Linked DNA regions of Homo sapiens: region 2 is linked to region 1. Evidence: promoter capture Hi-C in human tissues and cell types (Jung and others, 2019). All regions are on one chromosome and are shown on one strand. Each heading gives the region's core, a stretch centred on a gene start or on the middle of the fragment in contact. The rest is flanking DNA. Distances are from core to core; before and after follow the strand shown. Region 1 holds the start of ANKRD39 (ankyrin repeat domain 39). Region 2 overlaps NCAPH (non-SMC condensin I complex subunit H).

Region 1 (5,605 bases), core at 100-2,599:
ATTGTGACAACCCAAAATGTCTCCAGATATTCAAAGTCCCTTAAAGGGCAGAACTGCCCCCAGTTGAGAACTGGGGTGTTTAGGGAGGGTCTCTGAGGAGATGACATTGGAGCTGGGATCTGAAGAAAAGCATCAGCTAGCTTAACGGTTGTAGGAAGTTCATTCTAAGGAGATGGGACAGCAAGTCCAACGGCCTTAACTCAGGAAAAGGTCTTGCATATTTGAGACACCAAAACAAGACCAGTGTGGCTGCGGCGTAGTGATTGGGGGAAGAAAAGCATGAGAAATAAAATGAGGAGGAGAAGTAGAACCGGCAGGGGTGGGTCTACAGAGCTTTGTAGGCCATAACAGGGAATGATGTGATTTCTAATTTTCAAAAAGCCGCTCTGGCTGCTATGTGAGAGTAGAAAACCCTGTAGGAAGGCAAGCGTGGAAGCAGAAAGACCCTCTGAGGCAACCACTTCAGCAGTGCAGAGGACAGCGGTAGGAGGGGCGGAGGGAAGTAGGCAGGTGCCAGAACCACGGTAAAGGAAGAGTTCCATGAGAATGCTTACACAGCAGTGGCAATCGAGGGCTGCATCCGCAAGGGCAGATGACACAGCACAGTGGTTCCCAACGCTCACAAGAAGCACCCTGGTTTCCCGCCTTCCTCTGTTCCTATTGGCACCATAATCTCTGTATAATCTGGGCCAAACGTGTTACCTCTCTGGGTCCCACAGATGAGATACTGTGCCCTGCCTCGAAGGCTGCCCGTGCGAAGCTCTTGCCATCTTTAAAGCATGCAGGCTGCCTGGCACCCGGGGCTAAACAAAGGCCACTGCTCTCCTTCACCGCGCAGCCCCCAGGCCTGCAGCTCCATGCCCCTCAGGTTGGGTGCAATGCCCCTGGTGCAGATTCTGCTCCCCGGGCCCTCTCTCAAACACCTGAGCAGGCTTGTGTCTCCCAGGGGAGGTCGTCCCCCGCTACTCGGGAGGGTTACGGAAACCAGTGCTTCCGCTTCCCCGCCGCCCGCGGGACAGGTGTCTCCTGGCCGAGCTCGTGCGGGGCCCTGGGAGGCTCTCAGTACACGGGAACCGTGGGTCCCGCCCGCCTTCCCGCACCAGGCCCCAAGCCCCAAGCCCCAAGCTCTCGGGGCCCCGTTCATCCGCCTCTCCTTGGCCCCACGCCTCCTCCTTGGGCCGGGGCCTGGTGAGAACCACGAGGGCCGCGCGGCAGCCTCACCCCTCTCGAAGTCCATCTCCTCCAGCGTCTGCTGTACGCCGAGCACCGCGCTGGGATGCGAGCAGCAGGGCCCGTCCGCGCAGGGCCGAGGCGTCGCCATCCCGGCCCCGGCGTCAGTCGATCCGCCCCGGGTCTCAGGCTCAGCCTCGGCGGGAGGGGCGGACGCAGGGCCCGCCCCGCGTCCCTGATCTGGCCGCTCGGCGTCCGCGGCTGTCGCCCTAGTCCCGCCTTCTCGCCAAAGCTGACCAATCAAACGCCTAGGCCTTAGCTCGAGAACCAATTGCAACGGTAGGGCGGGGCTTGTTGCGCCCGGCCGTGCCCCGAGGCCTCCGCGCGAGGGCGTCCAAGGCCAAGCGAGGACTGAGGCGCTGGGTTCCGGGAGCCGCGCGCCGCTGGAGGGCCGCCGGGCCGCCTGGCCTTGCAGGGTGTGGGGATGAGGCAGCTGGGTCCGGTCGGGAGCTTTCCCGTTACCTTCGCCATGACCCAGCCGTCCAGCGACCTCGCAGCCTCCTCTCTTTACCGCCCCTAGTCCCTAGGGCAGGGAGGCGCCACGCGCTCCGCGGTCTTTTTTTTTTTTTTTTTTTTTTTTGAGACGGAGTCTCGCTGTCACCCAGACTTGTGTGCAGTGGCGCGATCTCGGCTCACTGCAACCTCCGCCTCCCGGGTTCAAGCGATTCTCCTGCGTCAGACTCCTGAGTAGCTGGGACTACAGGCGCCCGCCACCACGCCCGGCTAATTTTTTGTATTTTTTAGTAGAGACGGGGTTTCGCCAGGATGGTCTCGATCTCTTGACCTCGTGATCCGCTCACCTTGGCCTCCCAAAGTGCTGGGATTACAGGCGTGAGCCATCGGGCCGGGGCGCGCTCCACGGTTTTTAGCCCCTCTTCCTGGCACCACCCCGGACCAAGGCCGACCGCCCCCGGGGCAGCGGCAAAGTGACGGCTGGAAAGGCCTCGAGACGCCCCTCCCCGTACCCTGCTCTTCCTTACAAGTCCAGCAAGGGGCAGGTGGCCACAACTTGTCCTGCCTGTAGCTCCACCTCAGGGCAGGGGCAGGGCCTTGGTTTGTGCAGAACCCCCTGGCCCCACAGTGGGCGCTGAGTTTACGGAATCGGTCTTCATGATCAAAACCCACCGGGAGGCCGTCTGCGGACCGCGCACCTTCGCAGCGTGCTCCTCAGCGGACCCCAGCCTTCTCAATTCCCAGTTAAAACCCAGGCAGCTGCCTGCTCAAGCCACGATCAAGTGTACAGGGGAGACCGCCTGATCGGCTTAGAAAGAGTGCATGAACGACAGAATGCAGGTTGGGTTCTGTGCCAGTCCCTCTCCAGGACAGTGGTCTGGTGCACACTGGATGTAAGTTCCTTCCCCCGCTAGTTGGGGCACGGAAGACCCTAGCATTCCTGGTGGGTAGAAGGCTGGAAGTCGTTTCTCCTCCCCTAAGCAGGTTGAGAACCCCATCCTCACACAAGCAATGATCTCATCTCCACAACCTTCCACTCCTTTGGCCCCTCATTCCCACTACCCGTCTTGAGTTCTGGGAAGGCACCCCCCCCACCACTCCGCTTCTCCCCTGGACTCCCAGTGCCCTGACTTCTCCTTCTGGCCAGAAGCCAAGGCTGGCTCCCAAGGGGCTATGGCCATGGTCTCGTTCCCAGCCCCGCAGCCACCACTGTGGGAAAACACTAGAGCTGGGCTGTCCCCTCCCACAGGCAGGCAGGGACCACAAAAGTGGTGGCTGCCCTGGGATTGTGGGGGAGGCCCAGTCCAGCCTCCCTCCACCCAGAGAGCCTTCCCTCTTGGTACCCAGAAAGGCTTTAGCCCAAACATCTTAGCCCCATCAGAGCAATCGTTTCATTTTCTCCATTTTATTTGTCAATATAAAAATACTCAAATATTTACAACAAATAAATACGCGGGGACACAATAAGTTACACTGTTAGGAGCCCTCCTCCTAGGGCTGGAAGAGAGTATGCCATTGTCCACAGCAGGCCCACCCTCTCCCTTCTCTCCCCTCACACAGCCTTTCCCAGCCCTGTACAGGAAGAAGGCAAGTATAAAATACCACTGAACCCCGGGGCCAAGTGGGAGGCCCCACCCACCCTTCCCCCCAAACACACAGGAGGCTCCATCTCCCTCCCCCCACCCTGAAAACATTCACAGCCCTAGGAGCAGGACTAGGCCCACCCCAAGCCCTGCACTCCCTCTGAAGGGGCACAGCACCCTGTCCACCCCACCTCCATATGTACATCGCTGCCCGACACTCGGGGCAGTGGGGGTAGGAGAGACAAAGTGATACGACCCCTTCCCCTTCATAGCTCCAATGACTCACCAGGAGGACCCAGGCCAAGGGAAGACTTGACAGAAACAGGAAGGCTATGCCACAAGCGCGCACGCGCGTGCACACACACATACACACACACACAAACACATGTGCAAATACAGACAAACACACATCTTGAAACTTCTGCCTTGAAAAGTTTTGGCGGCTGGGGTCCCGCGTGTCTGTGATTCACAGAGAGGAGGAAGATGCCTTCTGCGAGGCTGGTGCCCTGGTGAGCCACACCAAGTGGCAGTGCCCGTGCTGAGCAGAGCAGGTCCTCATGGCCGGGTGGGTGCTGGGCAGTATCTGTCCCAGACAGAGCAGGTGCCCGTGCCATGTCCCTGAGGTAGCTGGTGCCTGTGCAAAAGTAGGAGCTACACCTCCCACGCTTCCCGCCGACGCGGTGGGGGTTCCCCTCATACTGATGACTCCTCGGGGTTGGAGTCGGGCAGTGGCTGGCGTTGCTGCAGTTTGCGTCTCAGTTCATCCGCGAGCTCAGGCAGGGGGTGCCCGAGCCCTCCCCGGTCCTCCCCTCCTAGTTGTAAGCGCACGTAACCATTGGCATTTGAGTTCCGCCCACCCCCCAGGTGAAGCCGAGTTGGAGAAGGCAGAGGCTGGCCTGGGATGCCTGGAGGTGGCGAAGGGGGCCCCCCACCGGGCTGGCACCGGGCATGCCCAGGTACTATCTTAAGGGAGCCATCTGAATAGTAGTAACCGACAGGATCCCAAAGTTTCTCATCTGGTTCAGGACAGGGCCGGAAGGGGGGACTGGTGGGCTCCTTGGGCAGCTCCAGGGGGTACACCAAGGTCCTCTCAGTAGCCTTGGCCCCTTTCTCCAGCTCTTCCCGCAGCCGCCGGCGCAATGACAGCACCAGCAGCAGCAGCACCAGGCACACAGCCCCCAGGGCCACCACCGCCAGCCACACCAGCCCCAGGTTTTCCAGGGGGGCCCGGGCCTCCAAGGTCACCGACGGGCCTGCCACGACAGCCACAAGGTAGCCTTCAGCAGCCAGCCGCGCCCCCTGCTCCTCTGAAAAGCAGTGGTAGGCCCCGGCATGGCGGGGCTGGGCAGCCATCACAACCAGGGCCTGGAGCCGGGCATCGTAGAGGAAGGACCCGGGCTGTTCCGCAGGCAGGTCCCGGCCCCCAAAGGTCCAGCGGGCATGGGCCAAGTTGGAGGAGAGGTGGCAGGGCAGCACCAGGTCTGTGCCCGCCACCACCGTGATGTTTTTGGGAGTGGGCCTGACTGTAGTGGCAGAGAAAACAGAGTGCATGTTAGTGCAGGAAAGCAGGGCTGGGGAAGAGGAGAACAGAAACTCCAGCTCTGGTCCAGGGCTCAGCCCGATGCGACGGGAATGAAAAAGCTCACCTTTCTTACTGCCACGGAGGTTGCAGATGCCTGAAGTGTCCGAGGTCATCACATGCTGGATCAGTAGAGATCTGGTAGGGGATGTAGGGTACATCAGCAGCCTGGCTCCAACCACCCTGAGTCCCTGGAGGTCCTGGCCTATGTAGAGCCCAACTCACCCAGAGTGGCCACCCACGGCCACACAGCGGCTGGTGTTGACGCTCCAGGCGCAATAGGGGTCCCGGGCGAGGACACAGTCTGCACAGGAGCGATACTTCATGCAGTCGGCCACGGGCAGCTGCACCAGCTGAGAGCGGGAGCCGGCAAAGAGCAGCTTCTGCGAGAAAAGCGGGGCGCAGGAGGGGGGTCGGCCAGGGCCACACCACGGGAGGGGCGGCCGGACCAGAACGCAGCATGGGGACAGCTTGGACTCCTGCAGGGGGCACAGCACGGGGCGCCAGAAGGAGGAACAAGGGAACAAGGCAGAGCTATAGTGCTGAAAAGGGAACTCTAAGAACCGCAGAACTCAGAGGGCTTACACAGGCCAGATGCAATCCTAAGCCCCTTATCGACGTGACGTTATTAGAAAGGGATGATGGGGCTGTGAGGCCAAAAAGTATAATCACACACACTCACACACACATAGTGCAGGAAATACATTTCAAGGCCCATCAGCCCTCACAACAGCAGCAGCATAACATAAGATGTTTTCCT
Region 2 (5,641 bases), core at 2,324-4,823, 510 kb before region 1:
AGCCACCCAACCATTTTGCTTCCGTGTCCTCTGGAGAATGGGGGTAGTGCCTGCCTCATGAAGTTGTTTGGAGGGTGAGTCCCTTTGTGTGCAGTGCTTAGAGCAGGGCCTGCACACACTGAGCATTCAGGAATTTTGTGCCGTCATTCCCTAGCCTTGAACATGAGGACATGCCTGTGAGGATTTGGCTCTTGACAAGTGTTTTTGGGAAGAGAGATCAGTGACAATATGTGGGTATTCCTATGTAAAGACTTAGCTTCCTCTGTTAAAAGCAGCATTATTTACATGAGCCTAGGCTATAAATAACAATCCTTTCTGCAATTTTCTGTTTTCAGAAAATCACTACCAAGAATGCTTTTGGTTTGCACTTGATTGATTTTATGTCAGAGATTCTTAAACAGAAAGACACCGAACCAACCAACTTTAAAGTAAGAAGGATGTCCACTTTCTCTTGCATCTGAATTAAATGATGATGATTTCTACTACTTGGCATAACACAGTTGAATGCTGCAAATACATGAGAGACTTCTCATTTAGATGTTATGTTAGTTAATTTACTTTCTTTTCCTAAACTGATGAAATACAGAGAGAATATATATTCTGTTTATTCCCTATCAGTCATAGAGGGATCTTTGTCATTGCTTCCTTGGGGCAAGTAAATATTTTGTGAAGCTTGCTGTGTTTTACCTGTTCAGAAGTTGTTTTTTGTGTATCTTTGTGAGTGCAGCTCTGATTGTTTGACTAGGTGGCTGCGGGTACTCTGGATGCCAGCACCAAGATCTATGCTGTGCGCGTGGATGCCGTCCATGCCGATGTATACAGAGTCCTTGGGGGGCTGGGCAAAGATGCACCGTCTTTGGAAGAAGTAGAAGGCCATGTTGCTGGTAGGTGGGTAGGGATCTGGATTTAAGTGGCTCTTTTTAGGGCATACCAGGTAGTTACTTGAGTAATATACTAGAAGAAGGTCACAAGAAATAAGTGATCTCATTTTATTGAAGACAGGGCATTTTTAGAACCATATATGGTCTTACGTGAGAAGATACTCAAACACTAAAATTATATTTCCTTGAAAAAGAGAAGGGCCTTATAAAAGCGTTTATATTTTATTTAGGCCAGGTTGTGTAAACATCACCAACTAAGGAACTTCTGATCTGGGAGTCTTTGGAAATGGACTTGCGTGAGAAGCCAAATCTAATAGTTTGGTTTCTCCATAAGTTGCAGATTAAATATGCCTGATGTTTTGAGAGAACTGCGTGTTTTTTGTTTGGTTGGGGTTGGAGTTTTGTTTTTTTTTTTTTTGAAACGAGGCTCACTTTGTCACCCAGGCTGGTATGCAGTGGTGTGATCTGGGCTCACGGCAGCCTCTGGCTCCCAAGTTCAAGTGATCCTCCTGCCTCACCACCCCAAGTAGCTGGGACTACAGGTGTGCATCTCCATGTCTGGCTAATTTTTGTACTGTTTTGTAGAGACGGGGTTTTGTCATGTTGGCCAGGCTGGTCTTGAACTCCTGAGCTCAAGTGATCCGTCTGCCTCAGCCTCCCAAAGCGCTAGGATTACAGGCATGAGCCACCACACCTGGCCTCACATGTTTAAATTACGACAGGTTTTGAAGAACTTGAGTTAGTAAGTTCATCACATGCTTCAAAGCAGCCCTTGCAGTACGCAATTGTATTTCTCCTTTTAGATGGAAGTGCTACTGAAATGGGAACAACCAAAAAGGCTGTAAAGCCAAAGAAGAAGCACTTACACAGAACTATTGAGCAGAACATAAACAACCTCAATGTCTCCGAAGCAGATCGGAAGTGTGAGGTGAGGAACTGTATGCGCAGTGTGGTTTCTGACTAATTCAGAACCTTAGGGGCTGAGACTTGGCAGGGCTAAGGCTGCCTTGCTGGTATGTGCCTGTTTAAGCCTCAAGGGAGTAAAATATTCAACTGATATCTCTGCATTATCATCTTTTAGCTTGACAGTAAAGACTAAAAGTAAGTCCCTCAGTGTTTCAGAATGATTCAAAAGGAAGAGACTGCAAATTGCTGAGAAATCTAATTGATAAAAAATTAATTTTATTTCCTAGTAAATGTAGCAGTGGTTATGTTAGCTAACATTTAATGTACACATAGTGAGCACCATGTGCTTCCTTAAGCCTGTAACCTGTATTAACTCATTTAATCCTCACAACATTCTTGTATCATTTTAGGAAGAGGTAACTGAGGCACAATGACTTGCCTGAAACGACACATCTAGTAAGTGAGCTAGAAGTTGAAGCTAAGTGGTCTAACTCCAGAATCCTAGCTTTAAATCATCTATCTAGCAAATCCTAAGGAATCGGCTTAAACAAATGGTACTGGAGGCCTCATCTATAATTAGCACAGTTAATTTAAAGCAAACAGGTGTTACTACAATTTTATTTTTTAATTCTGCCATTAAAAACATTGTTTCAGTGAACATTCTAATACATATTATCTTTGCACTCGTATGGGAGAATATCTGTAAGAAAATTCTGAGACATGGATTTTAAGTTGCCCTCAAAAAAAGGTACTAATTTACTCTCCCACTAGCAGTAGACTAGATTACTTTTCTCTCTTACCTCCACAACATTCATAAATGGTAATTAAGGTCACAAAACTAGAATTGGTCACCAAGGAAATGAATGTATATGGGAAAAAGACTGGGAGTTCCTTTTCCCCAATCTTAGGAGTTCAGAGAGCTGAAAAAACATCCAGTAGGTAGGAGGAAAACCAGAAGAGCGTGGTATCCAAATGAGAAAATATTTCAGGGAGTGGGGAATGATCAACCATGCCAAATGTGGCAACCTGAGGCCACTAATGAGCTTGGAGTGGGGGCCCCTCTGAAACTCAAGCTCAGACCTCCAGGGAAGGGCTTGGCTGGTGCTAGTGTCCCTGAGTTTGAGGGAGGGGATTGTGTGCCCAGGACCCAGACCCTGGAACGGGGGCATGCTGGCTGGTGCTGGTGTCTCAATAAGGCTGGTTCTGTGAGTGTGAAAATCTGCCAGTGGGGTTCAGCTGCTGCTACAGGTGGGCTCTGCTGCAGCCGGGGTGGAACACTGCTGGGTGACGCTCTCCTAACATGCAACCTGCAGAAAGGAGCAGTGCCTTCTCTCCCTTGGAGCCTGTAGTCTCCCTCTAGTGCCCCTACTTGGTAAACCCTAACAGGGAGCTGCCGGCAAAGCTGAATGTCCCAGACCCTGCATCACAGCCAAGGAGAGAGGGTAGGCTTAGAGCTGAGAGGCAGTAGCTTAGTAACTGGGACATGGTGAAGTGTCATGAGGATTACTGACAAAAGACTCTGGGGTGGGGAGAGAGATATATATAGAGAGAGTAAATGAAAACAAATATGCAAAATGCTACCCATTGGGTAATCTGAGTAGAAGCTTTACAGAGATTCGTATTACTGTTTCAACATTCTTGTGGATCTGAAATTTTTTTTATGATAAATGGGAGGAAAGGACTGAAAACACTTGAATATAGGTAGTTGTTTTGAAGAGTTTTGCTATAATTTGGAGCAGAGTACTGGGATAGCAAATGGAGGGAAAAGTAAGGCCAAGAGTTTTGATTTTGTTTTTGAATGGGAGAAATGACAGCATATTTTGTTGATGACAGCAGTCTAGTTTGGAGAAGGGATTATTGATGATGCAGCAGAAAGGAGAATTGCCAGGCTGATGTCCTTGCGCAGGTGAGAGGTAGGGAATGGACAGCACAGGTTGGGCTCGGCTGACGGGTGTTGTTTGGGTGCACTCATGGGGGAGCCTTCTGGATACTGTCTTAAAACAGGAAGCCAGGTCATCAGCTTACAGTGAGGATAGGGAAGGAAGGCACTGGGGGCGTGAGGAGGGGAAAGGGTAGGAAAGAGTCCTCTAGGAGGTGGGCGAGTACATGAACTAGGGAGATATGGTGTGACTGTTAGACAACTTAGGGTCTACTTGAGGGTGGTGGCAGATGGATATAAAGTGAGGTCAGTCAGCATTATTTTGTGTCTCTGTCCAGCCGTGAATAGCTGTGTGGGTACAATCATGGAGTAGGCAGAAAGTTGGGTTTAATATGGGATCCTGTTGAGCTGAGTGAATGGACACAGCTGGAAAGGGACACTGGAGGAGGTGAGTGCATGTGTAAAGGTGTGGTTGCATTCACTGCTTAGGGAATTTTACCTCGGAAGACAGGGGAATGAGGGCAGTGGAAAGTAATATAATCAGTAGATTGTAGGCCTGGTGGGGTCAAAGACTTCGTGGTGTTGGGGACAAGAAGGGGTGAGCTGGAAATGTAGGAGGTGGTTGCCAGAGAGGGGCCCTAGAATTGAGGATATAGAGAGGTTGCAGTCATGGTTAATGAGTCAACTCAGAGCAGGCAAGGGAGCAAATGGCGGAGGCGGGGTAGGGGTCTTACTAGGCTGTCTTGGTGTCTTACTTGGCTGTCTTGGAGTCCTGGGTTTCTTAGGATGGAGACCATTGAAGGAGAGGATATCAACCAAGAGACAGTGTACTGGATGGATCAACATATGGATATTGAAATCAATAAGAGCTACACCAGGAATAAATTTGGAGACTAGTAATGAGCCATAAACTAATACTAAGATCTTCTGAGAAGAAGGACAGGTTGTGACCTGGGGATTGGAAGATGACTGCAACACAGATGGGCAGACAGTGGCAAAAGCTGATGTTGTACTCAGAGCTGGGGCATTAGAAATTGGGAGGGGGGATAGTTGGATGCTGCAATCACCTGGCCCACCTGTAGGCCACTGGTTTGACGGCTGTGAAGAGAAAGCAGCCACTGCAGAGGCCCGCAGGGGAAGCCTATCCTCAGGCTGGCACCATGTCTCAATTGGAGCAGTGCCCCTCAGCCTGTTTTTTTTTTTTTTTTATCACTTTTGCCCCTTCAGACCCATTTAGACATTTTGTGCCTACTCCTTCCCCTTAAAATGAAATACTAAGGAATAAGATTTTGTCAGATAGGGTAGAGATTTGGATAGGCAAACATTATTGTAATATCTAAGATTTTTCCCACCTAGCCTCTAGGAAACAGTTTTCACCCCTTGAGAGTGAAATGAGAACACCATTGAGAATACATAAATTAGAACAAGTAGGTGGAGATAATCCTCAGGAACTAAGTGGGCGATAGAGAGAATTTTGCTGATGACTGAGTCTAGAGGGCCCTGAGGAAATACCAGTTTTTGAGGAGGAGTGGGAGATGGGGGCTGTGGTGGGGTGGGAGGTGGCATCAGAGTTCTATAGATCTTAGAGTCCAAGAAATGTAGAATTGTGGGTGTCTTGGGTCTTTTTGTGTAATTAATAAATAAGCCAGATAAAGGGCAACAGTGAGATGAATGCCAGTGTTCTTACAGCAGATGGTAGTGGTAAGACTGAGTGTGCAAGGGGCTAGGGAGGTGGGGCCTTGCCATGCCCACTCTGAGTGGTGAGGTGAGCAGGGCATTGCTGTGCACGGGCAGGGAGGGGCCAGAGGAAGGAGAGTCACTGAGAATGAGGCCTAAGAGGGAGGGGAGAGGCGAGAGCAGCTGGCTCTTGTGGGGAGAGGGAGTTGTATTTTTTCCTTATGTGTGTGTCAGCATTAACCGTGGGTGATGTGTGTAGCATATCACCATGTTTAAAGACCTTGACGTAGGCCGGGTG

Evidence for each region. The method cuts DNA at HindIII sites, captures the fragments that hold promoters and counts their contacts. A contact is called where the count stands out against the background at its distance.
Region 2: a fragment that was not itself captured here is called in contact with the fragment with the promoter of ANKRD39 in region 1 in 1 of the 25 tissues and cell types used here (dorsolateral prefrontal cortex).

What each region holds. Positions count from the first base shown.
Region 1 is chr2:96,856,667-96,862,271 of GRCh38, forward strand. It overlaps ANKRD39 (ankyrin repeat domain 39), which reads right to left and starts at 1,350. Exons shown (of 4, transcript NM_016466.6): 1 at 1,222-1,350. The coding sequence starts at 1,321. It overlaps SEMA4C (semaphorin 4C), which reads right to left. Exons shown (of 15, transcript NM_017789.5): 13 at 5,071-5,228; 14 at 4,913-4,983; 15 at 3,052-4,789. The coding sequence ends at 3,960. RefSeq lists silencers at 1,011-1,180, 1,211-1,880. The HindIII fragment of the contact is 43,475 bases long and covers 1-5,605 here.
Region 2 is chr2:96,342,421-96,348,061 of GRCh38, forward strand. NCAPH (non-SMC condensin I complex subunit H) reads left to right here. Exons shown (of 18, transcript NM_015341.5): 4 at 336-428; 5 at 746-884; 6 at 1,685-1,809. Among named protein-coding and RNA genes, the nearest start is that of NCAPH, 9.5 kb to the left of the region's middle. The HindIII fragment of the contact is 3,084 bases long and covers 2,032-5,115 here.